Regions from separate parts of the Homo sapiens genome. Here regions 1, 2 and 4 are each linked to region 3. Evidence: promoter capture Hi-C in 16 types of primary human blood cells and fetal thymus (Javierre and others, 2016). All regions are on one chromosome and are shown on one strand. The core of a region is centred on a gene start or on the middle of the fragment in contact, and the rest is flanking DNA. Distances in the headings are between cores, read along the strand shown. Region 1 overlaps RBL2 (RB transcriptional corepressor like 2). Region 2 has its middle 28 kb from the start of AKTIP. Region 3 holds the start of CHD9 (chromodomain helicase DNA binding protein 9). Region 4 has its middle 28 kb from the start of RBL2.

Region 1 (3,590 bases), core at 77-2,576, 430 kb after region 3:
ACATTTACCAAAAGCATCTACAGATATCATACTTAATGGTGATAGACTGAATGCCTTGCCCCTGTGATCAAGAACAAGGCAACAATGTCCACTCTCACTACCCCTGTTCAACATTGTAACTGGGAGTCCTAGCATGTGCAATAAGACAAGAAAAGCCATACAGCCTGGATTGTCTACATAGGAAAATCACAAAGAATCCACAAAAAGCTACTGGAACTAATAAGGGAGGTTATGTGATCAACATACAAAAATCAAATGTATTTCTATATGCTAGCAGTGAACAATCAGAAGTAAAATAAAAAATTGAATACCATAACATTTTAAAATTACTTAGGGGTAGGTATGATAAAAACTATGCAACACATATATCCTGAAAACTATAGAAGCTTGGTGAGAGAAATTAAAGCCTGAGAAGATACAGAAATGTGTTCATGACATTGAATGAAAATAATACCTTAGTTTCCAATTCATGGAAAATAAAACAGCAGTTTTCTCCCAATTGATCTATAATTTCAAACCAATTTCAGTCAAAATCCAAACAGATTTATGTAAAAAACTGATTCTAAAATTTGTCATTTACAAGGCAAAGAACTCGAATAGCTAAAATAATTCAAAGGTGGAGGATTCACACTAATTATGAAGGTACACAAAATATCTGTATTATAACACCACAGTAATCAAGACAGTAGTGTTGGTGGAAGTATAGACACAGAGATCAATAGAACAGAACAGAGTCCTGAAATAGACAACACATGTATGGTAAACTGATTTTCAACAAAGGTGCAAAGGCAATTTGGTAGAGAAAGGATAGCCTTTTCAACAGATGGTGCTGGAACAATTGGATGTGCATATAACAAAATAATAGTAAACTTGTTCCCATACCCTGCACTATATACAAAAACTAAAAATGAACCACAGACATAAATGTAAAATCTCAAACTACAAAACCTCTAGAAGACAACAGAAAATCTTAGTGAACATGTTTTATGGGAAAATTTTATATACAACATCAAAAGCACAATCCGTAAAATACTGTTAAAATGGATTTTATCAAAATGAATAATTTCTGCTATTTGAGACACTGTTAAGAGAATTAAAAAACCAGCCATAGACTATTAGAAAATCTGTACACGTTCCATATCTGATGAAGCATTTGTATATCTACAGTATCTAAAGAATTCTCAAAATTCAGTAGGAAAACCACCAAATGTAAAAGTGGGCAAAAGATTTGAACACACTTCACCCATTACATGCCTGTTAGAATGGCTAAAATCCAAAAAGTGACAAATCGTAAGTTCTGACAACAATGTGGAACAATTTTACATATTGCTGGTGTGAACGCAAAATGGCATCGCCACTGTGGAAAGTTGTTTCTTAAACATACCATTATACAACCAGCAATCTCATTCCTAGGTATTTACACAAATGAAATGGAAACTTATGTTTAGACAAAATCACGTACATGACTGTTTATAGTGACTTTCTTCCTAATTGCCAAAAAGTGGGAAACAACCCAAACGTCCTTCAGCTGGTGAATGCATATAAATAAGCTGTGGTGCATCCAGACAATCGACTGCTACTTTGCAATAAAAAGGAACTGATATATTCAATGTAGATAAATCTCAAATGCATCAATGCTTAAGTGAAAGACACTGGATTCAGTAGGCTACTTATGATTCCATTTCTGTGACATTGTGGAAAAGGCAAAACTATTGGACAAGAACATCAGTGGTGGTTTGGGATAGGCTGACAAGGGAGTATGAGGGATTTTTTCAGAGGAACAGTTTTATCCGACTGTAGGTATTTCTAGCACAGAATTGGGAGTCTGTCCAGTAAAATGATAGCGATTATTAGACTCTTGGTTGGAGAAAGATTTGTCATCTTGACGTAATAGGTGATAGCTGAAACTTACGGGGAGAATATTACAAAGCAAGAAGGGGGAGAATATTACAAAGCAAGAAGTAGCTTATGTCTAGAACCAATCTATAACGTACTAACATTTAGACTACTATGAGAAAATAATTATCAAATACTATACAAGATCAGTTAAGATGAAGACTGATCATTAGTGATACTTGACAGAGCAGTGTCAGTGCACTGGTATGACTTGTTGAAAAATAAATTATGGTAGCATTGCTTATACACAATTAACAATGTATACAGTAAACAGTGTAAGAAATATTCAAGCAAATGGGAGACTGCAGAGATAGCAAATGCAGACCAGACTCTTAGGAAGGCAGAAAGGGGGCTAGAAAAAGAATTGAAGGAAAGCTTTCTTCAGATGCTTAAGATTTTGTGGCCAGGTGCAGTGGCTCATGCCTGTTCCCAGCACATTAGGAGGCCAAAGCAGGAGGATTGCTTGAGCCCAGGAATTCAAGACCAGCTTGGACAACATAGTGCAACCCCATTTCTATTGTTAATTAAAAAAAAAAAAAAAATGAAAAACACTTGTGAAGGTACATCTGTTGATAATAAAGAACACTGATTTTCATTAAAACCCCCAAAACATTTATTACTTTAAAGAATAAAAATAACAAGTGTCATGATAAAATATGTCTGGGATTTGTTTTAAAATAATCTGGGGAATGGAAGTGAATCAGAGTATAAATCAAACAAGGCTGGCCAAACATGCTGAAGTAGAGGAATAGGTATGTGAGGATGCATTATGCTTCTCTACTTTTGTATGTTTACAATTTCCTATAATAGATATCTGTGAATTTGCTTAGTATGCTTTCTGTAAGCAAACATGGATGAAGCAGCACATGAAAAAGAATTTTAACCAACAAACTAGCAGAAAATAATGTGACAGACGACTTTTAGAGGCTTTGGAGAAACTGAATGCTAAAGGTGCTGTACAGCCAGCCCCAGTCTTTCTGACATTCTGGCAGTGTCTTTCTCAATTGCAGCTCCTCATCTGAGCCACTGTCCAGAAAATAATTTGAGTAACTTTAATCCTCAATTCTCCCAAGGATAGTACCATTCTAGATCTTACTAATTTATTAGCTACAATGGATACCTTAGGGGGGGATTAAGGCCTACTTTTCTAGTGAAATCCCAGTTGAGAATGGCTGCTAAAAACTGAGTAACATTAGACTGAAAAAAAGGGAATATTGTATAAAGTTGTACTTTAAAAAAGAGAAAAAGATGTGTCTAAGTGACTATCAGATAGCAATGTAATGCTCCCTAATTGTAAAAAAAATCACAAATTTGTGAACTCACAAATTATAGACATGTATAATTGACCTACAGGTCAAAAGTGCCTGTGGAAGAGCTTGTTAAAAATAGAACTACTCAGCCCCTTCTCAAATAGCCATCGGCCTCAGCCAGCTGAAAAGTAAAGTTGGCAGGTTATGTAACTTAGTGTTTCTTTTCTCTGTAGATGTGTTCAAACTCTTCCAGGGTAAACTGCTTAACTCATTTGAGATTCTTTGACTTAATACTGAGCTATGTGCATTTGCATTTTAAAATTTTTGTATCTTTTTCCCACCATAGAGACTGAGAGAAATTAATAGTATGATACGCACAGGAGAAACTCCTACTAAAAAGAGAGGAATTCTTTTGGAAGATGGAAGTGAATCACCTGCAAAAAG
Region 2 (3,515 bases), core at 967-3,466, 480 kb after region 3:
TGGCAGTTCACAATGAAATTTAGCTTGACAGCTTGGACATAAAACTAAAAATAAATGACTTCACATCCAAATAATAAGTAATAACAATGTTAGCCTGCATAAGAATAGCAGGGCTAGATTCAAATACAATATTAATTTTAGGAATATGAGTGACTCGGGAGAGACAGAGGCAAAGAAACAAATCCTTCATATAGCAATCGGCTCCTCTTATCCCCCAGGCAACTGGCTGCCTTTCACCTCCGCGGCACAGCAATTATGTGGTGTAATGGAGGCAGCGCAAATAAGCAGAAAGATTTTATTAAACCAAATGAGCAAATCATCTGCGTATTATTGCGATTTGATTGACACTGACAAGTGTCGAGCAGACGCGGATGTGAATATGATACAGAAGCTTGCAGCAAAGCTCTTGATAATGTTACTCTTGATAAAGTTGCCTGGCCACCCTCTCTAAGTAAATAAAGGGGAGAGGAATATGACGCATATTAATTCACCCAGTTTGCAGCCTACTGGAGGACGAGAGGGGAAAAAAAAGTTGCAATGGGTTCAGCGCGTGGCATTTTATATGAATACCAAAATTGCATTCATGATTCACATAGACTTTACGATAATATATTAATATTAAAACTAAAGGTCATTCCACGTAACAGTTAAGCTGCCTGAGCTTCAACCTTTATACCAATAACAGATTCTAGAAAGTAAGGAAGAAATATTTGAATACTCTAAAAAAAAATTCTTTTTTTTTTAATTTGGAAGGATTGCTGGCTAACGCTAGCACAGGTGGCCCCTCACCCACCTGCCTTCTCCGGGGACAATTAAAGGGCTACCTCTAGGATGGCTGCATCTGAGACAGCTGGTGCTGCTGAGTGAGGAAAGGTGATTAATTGCCACAGGCCTTCAGGCCCTCATTCAGGGCTACATCTCACTAATGATTCCCTTATGAGCTGCGGGAGCGCCTGCCGTCGTCAGAGCTCCACGGAGTCAGCACAAAACTTTACTCAGCTGCTCAGGGAGCTCCGAGCAAATGGCCCAGGACGAGGAAGGCTCTGTCTAGTACGATTTAGGGGGAGATCTGCCTAGAGGCAGGGGGCTGGCCACAATGACCTCTGGAGCTCCCTTCAGGGGGTGGTTTGCTCCGATTCTGTCAGTCAGGCTGGCTCACGCAAAAGATTGTCCTGGGTGGGTAGACAGACCCTGAGAATTTTCCTGGAAGAGGGGCTTGAAGAAGAAAATGGAGACAAGGGCAGTCTACTTGTCCACAATGAGGTTCTGTTCACGCAAAGCAGAGAGCCATTTCCATAGAGTAAGTGAAACCAGTGTGAGAGAAAGCAGTATTTATGCTGGAAAGTTGATCTGGCCCTCAGACTCATGGGCACATTCAGAAGTCTTGCCTACTGAGACTGGGTGGCCAGGGAGCCTAGTGGCTAGAGTCAGCTTGTCCAGGCTCAGAGCCCACTGTGCCTCATTTAAGATAACTCTGCAACCAGTGGCCTCTACAGTAGCTTGAAATTGGTGGGAGTAGTTACACCATGGAAATTGGCCATGGTGGGTGGAGTTACACCACGGAAATTGGCCATAGCAGGAGTATTTACACCATGGAAATTGGCAAGCACTATAAATCAGGACTCCTCAAGCTGATTTAACAGCTTGTTTTTAAACATTTTAACAGCACTCCACTGGCTGACTCAGGGCATAGATACATGGCTATTTTACCTAGAACTGAGTCTTTATGAATGCCAATTTGGTACAAAACAAGAGGGAAGAAAAAGGCTGAACTCACTCCAGCCTATACAATAATACTAACAGCTTCTCTAGGTGATTTTCTACCTCTTTTGGGAAAATAATTCGGGTACTCTGGCTTCTAAGCTCCTCTCTGAGGCAGCGCTGGAGTAAATGAGGTGGGACGTGGGGGTGCTGCTGTAGGTGCCTGGCTCTTGTGGAAGGTGTCCTTGTCTGCTGGTTACTACTGACCTCGCTGGCATCTTAAACAGGTGAACTCATGCTCTGGTCTCCCTCGGCCTGGTCACTCTCTGGGCCTGGCTCAGCCTTGCCCTCCCCCAGCCTTCTGGCCTCATTAGGCCTCCCTCATCTGCTGTGGAGTCTCCTGGCCTGTTCTGAGAGGGAAGTGCCTGGGTTGTGTCCACACCTCGAGGGAGGGGAAGGCAGCTCAGAAAGCCCATGCAGCTCCTCTGCCGGACCACGACTACCCACCCTACTTTGCTCATCCAGTTGGATGGAGAGCGAGCAGGGGATCTATTTCCAGGTTCTTAAGGGGAATTGGGGCAGAGATAACCTCTTCCTTTAGCCTCCTCTTATTCCTTTATCTTACACCTTTCCCAGCCAAGATGTGAAGGAGAGAGGTCAGGACACACATCCAGCTTCACCTCTCGCCCATCTGTCTCTCTCACCTTCCTCCTCCTGCATCTGCCAATGTTTTTCAATGTTTTCATGCTACCAGTCATGACCCATTCCTGGGGGAGTGACTGAAGTCAGGGGGTTATGACCAGCATTAATACAAATTTAAAAAGAATTTTAAAAATGAGAAAATATCACACATAACAAGGCTAAGAATTGTTTTCTAAAATTTGTTTTGTGTACGTGTCTGTGTGCACACACAAATGTCTTGCTGTGGGTCATGGAAAAAATATGTGACAGCCACTCTTCTGCATGATATTCTATCACAGAGCAACAGGCTGAATATCCCAAGGGACACAGGGCTGTCTTCTCCACACGAGAGATCTCCAAGCACTGAGGCTCCCTAGCCTAGCTCTTGACATGCTGAGTACATTTTTCTTTAAAAAAAAAAAAAAAAAAGGAGGAAATCTTCAAGACAAGTCTGGTTTGCCATGCAAAATCCAGTTATGAATGTCAAAACCTGAGCATAATTCTTTCTCTTGCATTTCCACTGTAAACAAGCGTGACCTCTCCCACTCCCCGAAGATGACCAATGCCTCTGGCCAGCTGGGGAGAGGCTCATTTTCAGAAAGGCCAAAGAAAAAAGGCATATATTTGTTCAAACAATGTGTCTTCTTCCATGCTAATGGTGTAAGAGGCTGTTGGGCTGACCCCCCATCTATGGGGCCCTCCTTGCTTCGCCAGCGGTGCATGGGTAGTGATGGACACTGAGCTACATTTTCTCAAGAGGTACTCAGAGCTATACTGATCTGCATCTGAGAAGCCTCCACTGTCCATCCTGTTGCCAATGCCATGAGCCACACTTGGCTTTAATGAGCAAATCTATGTGCGATTGTGCAAAAGCCAAGTTAAGTGGCTCAGAGGTTCCTTCCACCAGGACTAAGCCAGGTTGTTCTTGTAATCACTTTTTGCCACCTCCCCTTCCCTCTAGACTGTTTTAGGAGGGTAGAGAATATGTCTGCTTAACTCATCCTCACCCTCAGTCCTAGCAGAGCATCCAAGGCATTTGGTAGGCGTTCAATGAAGTTGTGTAGAATAAATGAATGTGGGCCAGACGCAGTGGCTCAAGCCTGTAATCCCAGCACTTTGGGAAGCTGAGGCGG
Region 3 (3,330 bases), core at 23-2,522:
CTCAGCTCACTGCAACCTCCTCCTTCCGGGTTCAAGGGATTCTCCCACCTCAGCCTTGGAGTAGTTGGGATTACAGGCTCCTGCCACCACGCCCGGCTAATTTTTGTATTTTTTGTAGAGACTGGGTTTTGCCATGTTGGCTAGGCTGGTCTCAAACTCCTGACCTCAAGCGATCCTCTTGCCTCAGCCTTCCAAAGTGCTGGGATTACAGGCGTGAGCTACGGTGCCTGGCCCTAAATATAGATATTTTTAATAAATCCTCTACTTATCTCACAACGAGCTCAATCGCTTTGCATTAGATCGTTGGGTGTGTTAAAAGTATTCATGTGTTACATTAAATGTGAATTCAACAAAAGCAGAGATTTTTGTGTTTTGTTCTTCATTGTATCCCTTGATTGTAGAAAAGTGGCACATAGTAGGTGCTCAGTTAATCGTTGTTAAATGAAGACATAAATGAAATATAAACCATTAAATGTCCACCATATTTGTAAGCGTTTTGGCATGTCTTCATTGAAAGAATACCAGGCAGCTGGGAGCCATAGTTTACTCCGGTAATCCCAGTGCTTTGGGAGGCTGCAGGTGAGAGGATCGCTTGAGACCAGGAGTTCAAGAGCCACCAGGGCAACATAGAGAGACCTTGTCTCTACAAAAACAAAACAAAACAAAACAAAAAACAAAAAACACAATTCCCTTAAGCCGCCCCTTCCCCTTCCACTGCTCAGAGAAGGCCTTCCAGCAGAGCAGAGCACGAGGTCGCTGGCACACACCCATCCTCCACCAGTCCTGGCCTCTGTAGAGCAAGCCAGCAGAGCAGGCTGTTTCTCTCATTCAGGGACGGTTTAGGGGGTGGCAGGAAAAAATGGTTGCTGATAGGCGAAGGGCCTCCCTGGGTTGGAGAGAACCCCAGCCTCGGATGGTCCCAGCACATTTAAAAGAGAAGCAGTGCCAAAGGTGGGGTGCACTGAAAGCTGCTGGATGAAGGGAAAGATCCTTGTGCTCAGCCCGGAAAACCGGAGGATGGATACCAGGCCGAGGGGTCCCTCCGTGCCCCAAGAGAAAGTTCACCAAGTTTAGATCCCAGTGCCCCGCAGCGGGTGAAGGTGGTCCCGCCCCAGGCCGGATCTGGCCACAGGGCTGGCGGCGCGCTGGAAAACCGCCCACGTGGGAAGAAGCCCTGGCTGCATTTCCGCCCTGGACTGCGCTCCCGCCTGCCAGCGCGGTCCCTGCGCAGCCGCCCCGCGCCCACTAGGTGGCGCCTGCGCTCTAGTGGGCGCTTCACAGGCGCAGCGACAGCGACAGCGACAGCTCGAACCTGAGTCCCAGGATTCCGGGGACTGGAGGGCAGCGCCGGCAGCCAAGGTAGGATTCCTGAGCCCCGGGCGTCTCCCTGGAGCCTCTGAGGTCGGGGTGGACAGCGGGGCGGCCGCTGGGCACCGCTTGCGGTCTGCAGAGATAACCGGAGGAGTCGGGGCGGCAGCACGTGTTGTAGCCGTGGGGGGGACCCAGAGACCCGCAGCCTCGGAGCTGGGCCTAGAGCAAGGCAGAGCACCAGGTCGCTGGCACGCTCGCATCCTCCCCAGCCCTCGCCTCCCAGAGCATGCCCGAATCCCCAAGCCGGGCGTCCTCGAAGCGGAAAGCAGCCACTGTCGCCCAGAGCCACTCCAGGGTGGCAGCCGAGTGCTGATAAGGTCCAGAGCACCACTTCTTAAACTTGTCTGCCCGTTGGCGTTGCTTGGGAAGCATTAAAAAAATACCGATGCCCTAGTTCCACCCCCGCCCCCCCCCAGAGACTCAGATGTGATTGGTCTGGGTGGGGGACTGGACATCTGGGTATTAAAATGTTTGCAAGAGATTCCAGCTGGCAGCCAAATTTGAGGACCCTTGATCTAAGGAGTTGGAGAAAAACGGAGGACATTTGTTTGTTCTAACCCAGAATGCTGATGATTCCCTCCTCCTCCTATTCCTCCAGTTCGCCCTCCTCCTCCTTTCTCATGTGCCTTTTAAGCAGGAAATGCCTCTGCCTTTGTACTGTCAAACCCAAGATAACAAACTAACCATCCCCCACCCCCCACAGTAGGGCTGGTTCTGAAAGGGTTGAACTCGAAAGTGGACAAGGAACAGAAAGACACCAGTGTGGAATGTGAGCGAAGACTCTTAGGGGTTTATGGGTAGGAAGGGGGTTCCTCCCCACCCTGATCCCAGAGAAGATCAGGAGACTGGCTGGAGCTGTCTTCCTCATTTTGGCAAACCTAGCTGATTAGGCAGTGAGAGGCCTTATAACGAGCCTTTTTTACAACTAGTAAAAGGGCCCTTTTACAACTAGTAAAAATGAGCCCTTATGTTTGTTTGTTTTATAGAGATAGGGCCTCACTATATTCCCCAGGATGGTCTCAAACTCCTAGGCTCAAGCCATTCTCCAGCCTCGGCCTCCCAAAGTGCTGGGATTATAGGCATGAGCCGCTGCGCCCCGCTGACCCCTTATGTTTATATAACAGCAGTGTTACTAACATGGGCATAGATTCCCCCCCATAGGCAGCCCTTCCTTTGTGACCTTGGAAACTCACTGAACCATCCTCAGCTTCAGTTTTTGTATCTGCAAAATGGGTGTGAAAATCGGGTTGCCTTGGGAATTATTCACAATAAAAGCTACTGTTTACTAAGGGTTCACCCTATGCTAGAGGCTTTCTGTGCAGGGCCAAGTTAGACTCCTGACCATAACTTCCACGGTAGAACTATGAATACTGCATTTGATAGCCAAGGAAACTGAGGCTCAGAGAGGCCAATGATCTTGCTCGAAGTTATATAATTAATTAATAAGAAGCATGTCCCATATTTGAACCCAGGCAGTCTGCTCTTGAGCTCAGGTGCAAAAGAACAATACTCTGCTGTTTCCCTTGTTGACCAGGACAGCGTGCACGGGGCAGGCGCGTGGTGTGTCTTCACAAACACTAGCTATCACTGCTGTGAGCTGAGCACTTCCACTGAATTGACTCATTCGCTCATTGGAAATACATTTATTATTGAGAGCCTACTGTGGGCCAGGCAGTTTTCCAGATGCTAGAGATAAAATATGAGTAAGACAGAATTCAGCCAGCCCCGAATGAGAGAAACAGGAAGAAAGTGCAGTAGATTCTCATTATTCACAAGTTCTAAATTTGCAAATTCTTCCCTGTAATCCCAGCACTTTGAGAGGCTGAGGCAGGAGGATCGCTTGAGGCTAGGAGTTTCAGATCAGCCTGTGCAACAGAGCAAGGCCCTGTTTGCTTAAAAATTATACACATTGAATAATTCTTAAAAAAAATTTGTTTGTGGCCAGGCATGGTGGCTCAT
Region 4 (3,776 bases), core at 1,208-3,707, 350 kb after region 3:
TCCCAGGTTCAAGGGATTCTCCTGTATCAGCCTCCCAAGCAGCTGGGATTACAGGCGCCCGCCACCATGACAGCTAATTTTTGTATTTTTAAGTAGAGACGCGGTTTCACCATGTTGGCCAGGCTGGTCTTGAACTCCTGACCTCAGGTGATCCACCAGCCTTGGCCTCCCAAAGTGCTGGGATTACAGGTGTGAGCCACCACGCCCGGCCTCATTTCTCTTCTTAATAAAGCATTGCTCAAGTAAAATCTCTGTATCATAATATCCGCCTATCAGACACTGCCTTCATCCTTTGAATCTTGGAACTTTTATCCTCAATTGGCCTAGATTATTGTACCAATTTCTCAGCCACTTTTCCTGTGTTCCTTTGCTTTAGTTTCATATGTGTTTTATTTTGGCACTAGAAATGATAAGAAAGCTAGGGCCTCCTGAGGGCAGGATTATATGAGACTTCAAATAACTTCAATAGAGTTAATGATAAAGGAAAATATAGAAAATAAAGAATTGATAACAAGTAGGGGAATACTGCCACCTTTGGACTAGAGAGAATAGTTATCTTTATTTTTCTTTTGTCGTGCCTTTTTGTGAATCTTGAACGTAATAAAAATATTTCTCATGGGCTGATATGCCTTTTTAATATACACTTTTATTTTAAGTTCAGGGGTACATGTGGAGGTTTGTTACATGCCTATGTAACATGTGTCATGGGGGTTTGTTGTACAGATTATCTCGCCATCCAGGTATTAAGTCTAGTACCCATTAGTTATTTTTTTTTATTCTCTCCATGTATTCTCATCATTTAGCTCCCACCTATAAGTGAGAACATGCAGTGTTTCATTTTCTGTTCCTGTGTTAGTTTGCTAAAGATAATGGGAAGACAACCTAGGCAATACCATTCAGGACGTAGGCACGGGCAAAGATTCATGAAGAAGATGTCAAAAACAATTGCAACAAAAGTACACATTGACAAATGGGATCTAATTAAACTGAAGAGCTTCTGCACAGCAAAAGAAACTATCAACAGAGTAAATAGATAACCTACAGAATGGGAGACAATTTTTGCAAACTATGCATCTAGTGAAGGCCTAATATCCAGCATCTATACGGAACTTCAAACTTACAAAAAAAAAAAAAAACCATCCCATTAAAAAGTGGACAAAGGACATGAACAGATACTTCTCAAAAGAAGAGATGTCTTATGAATTATAAGTGAAAATTCTTTGAGGTACTTCATTTTTTTACTTTCATTCCAAAGCTTGACAGATTTACCACTATAATATCTTGCTTTAGAATAACTTGTGTAATTGCCCATGAAATTCCCAATTTTTTAGTTAACTATATTTAAAAATCCACATAAATATGCATGTAGCAAATGACTTTTTTAGTTATTCAGAAATTCTACAATAATTTTAAATATAACACCATCTCATGGATGTATCGATATAGGATCAGAAATATTTTTGTGTATGTTTCATACATGGTTGAATAAGACTTCATATATCTGAGTACTCCAGGACTTTAATAATTTAATAAGAATGTATAGACATTGTGGCTGTAGGCCATACTTCCCTTTTGTCCACAGTCACTGACACATTTTCTTATAACTTGGGTACAACAGGTTCCCCACCTTTCCTTAAGAACTCTTATCTTTTAGGGGGGTACACAATGATTATTTACTAATTTCTACACTCTTTATAACTTGTTTTTGCTGTTTTGTTGTTTTTACAAGTAGTGTCAGTATGTTTTAAAAACACTAGAGAATGGGAACACACCTGTGTCTCTTGCCCCTCCTTTGATTCATTCATTTAGTCATGCAGTAAATATCTGAGTGCCATCTGTATGACAGGAACCCTTCAGGAAATATAGTTATGAAGCTACACAGGTAAAGCCACCGTCCAGATGAAGCATATTTTCTAATGAGAGACAATAGACAGTAAGCAAGTAAATAAGTGGATATGTGATAGAATTTTTGGTAGTAATAAGTGCAAAGGAGAAAAAGCAGAGTGAAGAGACTGGGTATGGCCAGAGGGGCTTTTTTTTTTTTTTTTGCTAGAGTGTTCTAGGAAGTGCTTTTTAAAGAGATACTTCAGCATAGACCAGAATTAAGTAAATGAAGGAGCCAAGGGAAAATCTAGGAGAAGAGTAAGCAACGTCAGAAGGCCAGAATAGAGGAGAGTGAGCAGCACAAGAGGAAATGAGCATCAAAGTGCATAGACACCGGATCCCTGCAAGCATTTGCATTTTGTTCCAAGTGGTATAGAAATTTTGCCATTACATCTGAGCTCTACATTAAATGATCACATTAGCTGCTGTATGAATAGGCTGCAGGGAGGCAAGAACAGAAGTAAATAAAAACCAATTAAGAAACTATTCTAATTATTCCAGGCAAGTGGTAATTATAGCTTGGTTAAGGATGCGAGTGTCAGAAATAATGAAAAGTGGCAAGATTGGGAATATATATTAAAGTTAGAGCAGATAAGAGTTTTTCATGGCTTGGCTATGCAGGGGTATGGGAAAGTGGAAAGAATTGTAATTTTTAAGTATTTTTGTCTCAGCAGCTAGAAGCTGACATCAACTGAGATGGATAGGACTAAAGGAGGGGAATGTTAGTGAAAATGGATTGCTGTAATCAAGAATTTGTTTGGGAGCATATTAAGCATAAGGTTCCAATTAGAGATTTCAGTGGACATTTTGAGTTTTGGTGGGAATTCAACAATGGAATACAGAGAAGGAATGATAAATTTGGGGTGTGTTCTGTTCATATGCATGCTATCTAACTAATGCCTGTGACTAGATAGAATCACTTATTAACACGAATATGAATAGCAGAAAGATCATTAACAGGAACTAAAGATTAATGTTTTCTTATGTTAGGAGGTTGGGTGAAAGAAGAAGAACAAGCCCAGCAAAGTGCCTGAGAAGGAAGGTATGAAAACTTGGAGAGTATTATATCTGCATCCTGTTTCCCCTGTCCTCTTTCCTTCAAATGAAGGATAAAGACACAGGGATGTCTTTGGCCTATGGATGTCCAGTTGCACCATCACCATTTACTGAAAAGGCTATACTTCTTCTATTGAGTTGCTTTTGCAACTTTGCCATGTCAAGTACTGTCAACAAATTTAAGAGGAAAAGAATTGTCCATTAGATTTCTCAAGGTGGAGGTCACTTGTGACCTTGGCAAAAATGATTTCAGATGAGTTGTGGGGACAAAAATCTTAGAGTAGACTCAAGAGAATTGAGAGATGAGTCATATAATTTTTTCTACAAAGGAAAGTAGGGTAAAAAATTGATAACTTGGATTAATACAGAGAGGTGCATATGTATGTGTGTGTTTGTGCATGCACACCTGTGTGTTTTGGTGGAGATAGTACATATGGCATGCTTGTGAGGTGATTGGAATGGTGCAGGAAGAGAAAAAAATGAAGATGCCAGAGAAAGGGAAACTATTATAGAAACAAAGTATTTGAGTGAGTGGAAGGGGATGAGATCTAGTGCACAAGGAATTATCAAAGGCCTTTAATACATTGTAGCAGCAAAGGTGGCTGAGAATATACATACATACACACAAATAAATATGGATATATATACACACACATATATACGTATATTCCTCATAAAAGACTAAGAAAAGCTGGATGATCTTATCAACAGATGCAGAAAAAGCTTTGAACAAAATTCAACACCACTTGTAATTAAAATATCTAAAGAAACCCACTCAACTACAAATAGACAGGAACTTCCTGAATAAAGTATGTGTATGATGTCTGTGGCTAATG

The links. Contacts are between HindIII fragments. The CHiCAGO score rates a contact against its expected background, and 5 or more counts as called.
Region 1: a fragment that was not itself captured here is called in contact with the fragment with the promoter of CHD9 in region 3 in 1 of 17 cell types (neutrophils); the score reaches 5.3 in neutrophils.
Region 2: a fragment that was not itself captured here is called in contact with the fragment with the promoter of CHD9 in region 3 in 1 of 17 cell types (neutrophils); the score reaches 5.2 in neutrophils.
Region 4: a fragment that was not itself captured here is called in contact with the fragment with the promoter of CHD9 in region 3 in 1 of 17 cell types (neutrophils); the score reaches 6.3 in neutrophils.

Annotation. Positions count from the first base shown.
Region 1 is chr16:53,486,638-53,490,227 of GRCh38, forward strand. It overlaps RBL2 (RB transcriptional corepressor like 2), which reads left to right. Exons shown (of 22, transcript NM_005611.4): 22 at 3,493-3,590. Among named protein-coding and RNA genes, the nearest start is that of AKTIP, 15 kb to the right of the region's middle. The HindIII fragment of the contact is 1,885 bases long and covers 385-2,269 here.
Region 2 is chr16:53,529,360-53,532,874 of GRCh38, forward strand. No RefSeq gene overlaps it. Among named protein-coding and RNA genes, the nearest start is that of AKTIP, 28 kb to the left of the region's middle. The HindIII fragment of the contact is 3,655 bases long and covers 390-3,515 here.
Region 3 is chr16:53,053,719-53,057,048 of GRCh38, forward strand. It overlaps CHD9 (chromodomain helicase DNA binding protein 9), which reads left to right and starts at 1,273. Exons shown (of 39, transcript NM_001308319.2): 1 at 1,273-1,359. RefSeq lists enhancers at 1,567-2,098, 1,611-1,660. The HindIII fragment of the contact is 11,983 bases long and covers 1-3,330 here.
Region 4 is chr16:53,404,647-53,408,422 of GRCh38, forward strand. No RefSeq gene overlaps it. Among named protein-coding and RNA genes, the nearest start is that of RBL2, 28 kb to the right of the region's middle. The HindIII fragment of the contact is 2,408 bases long and covers 1,254-3,661 here.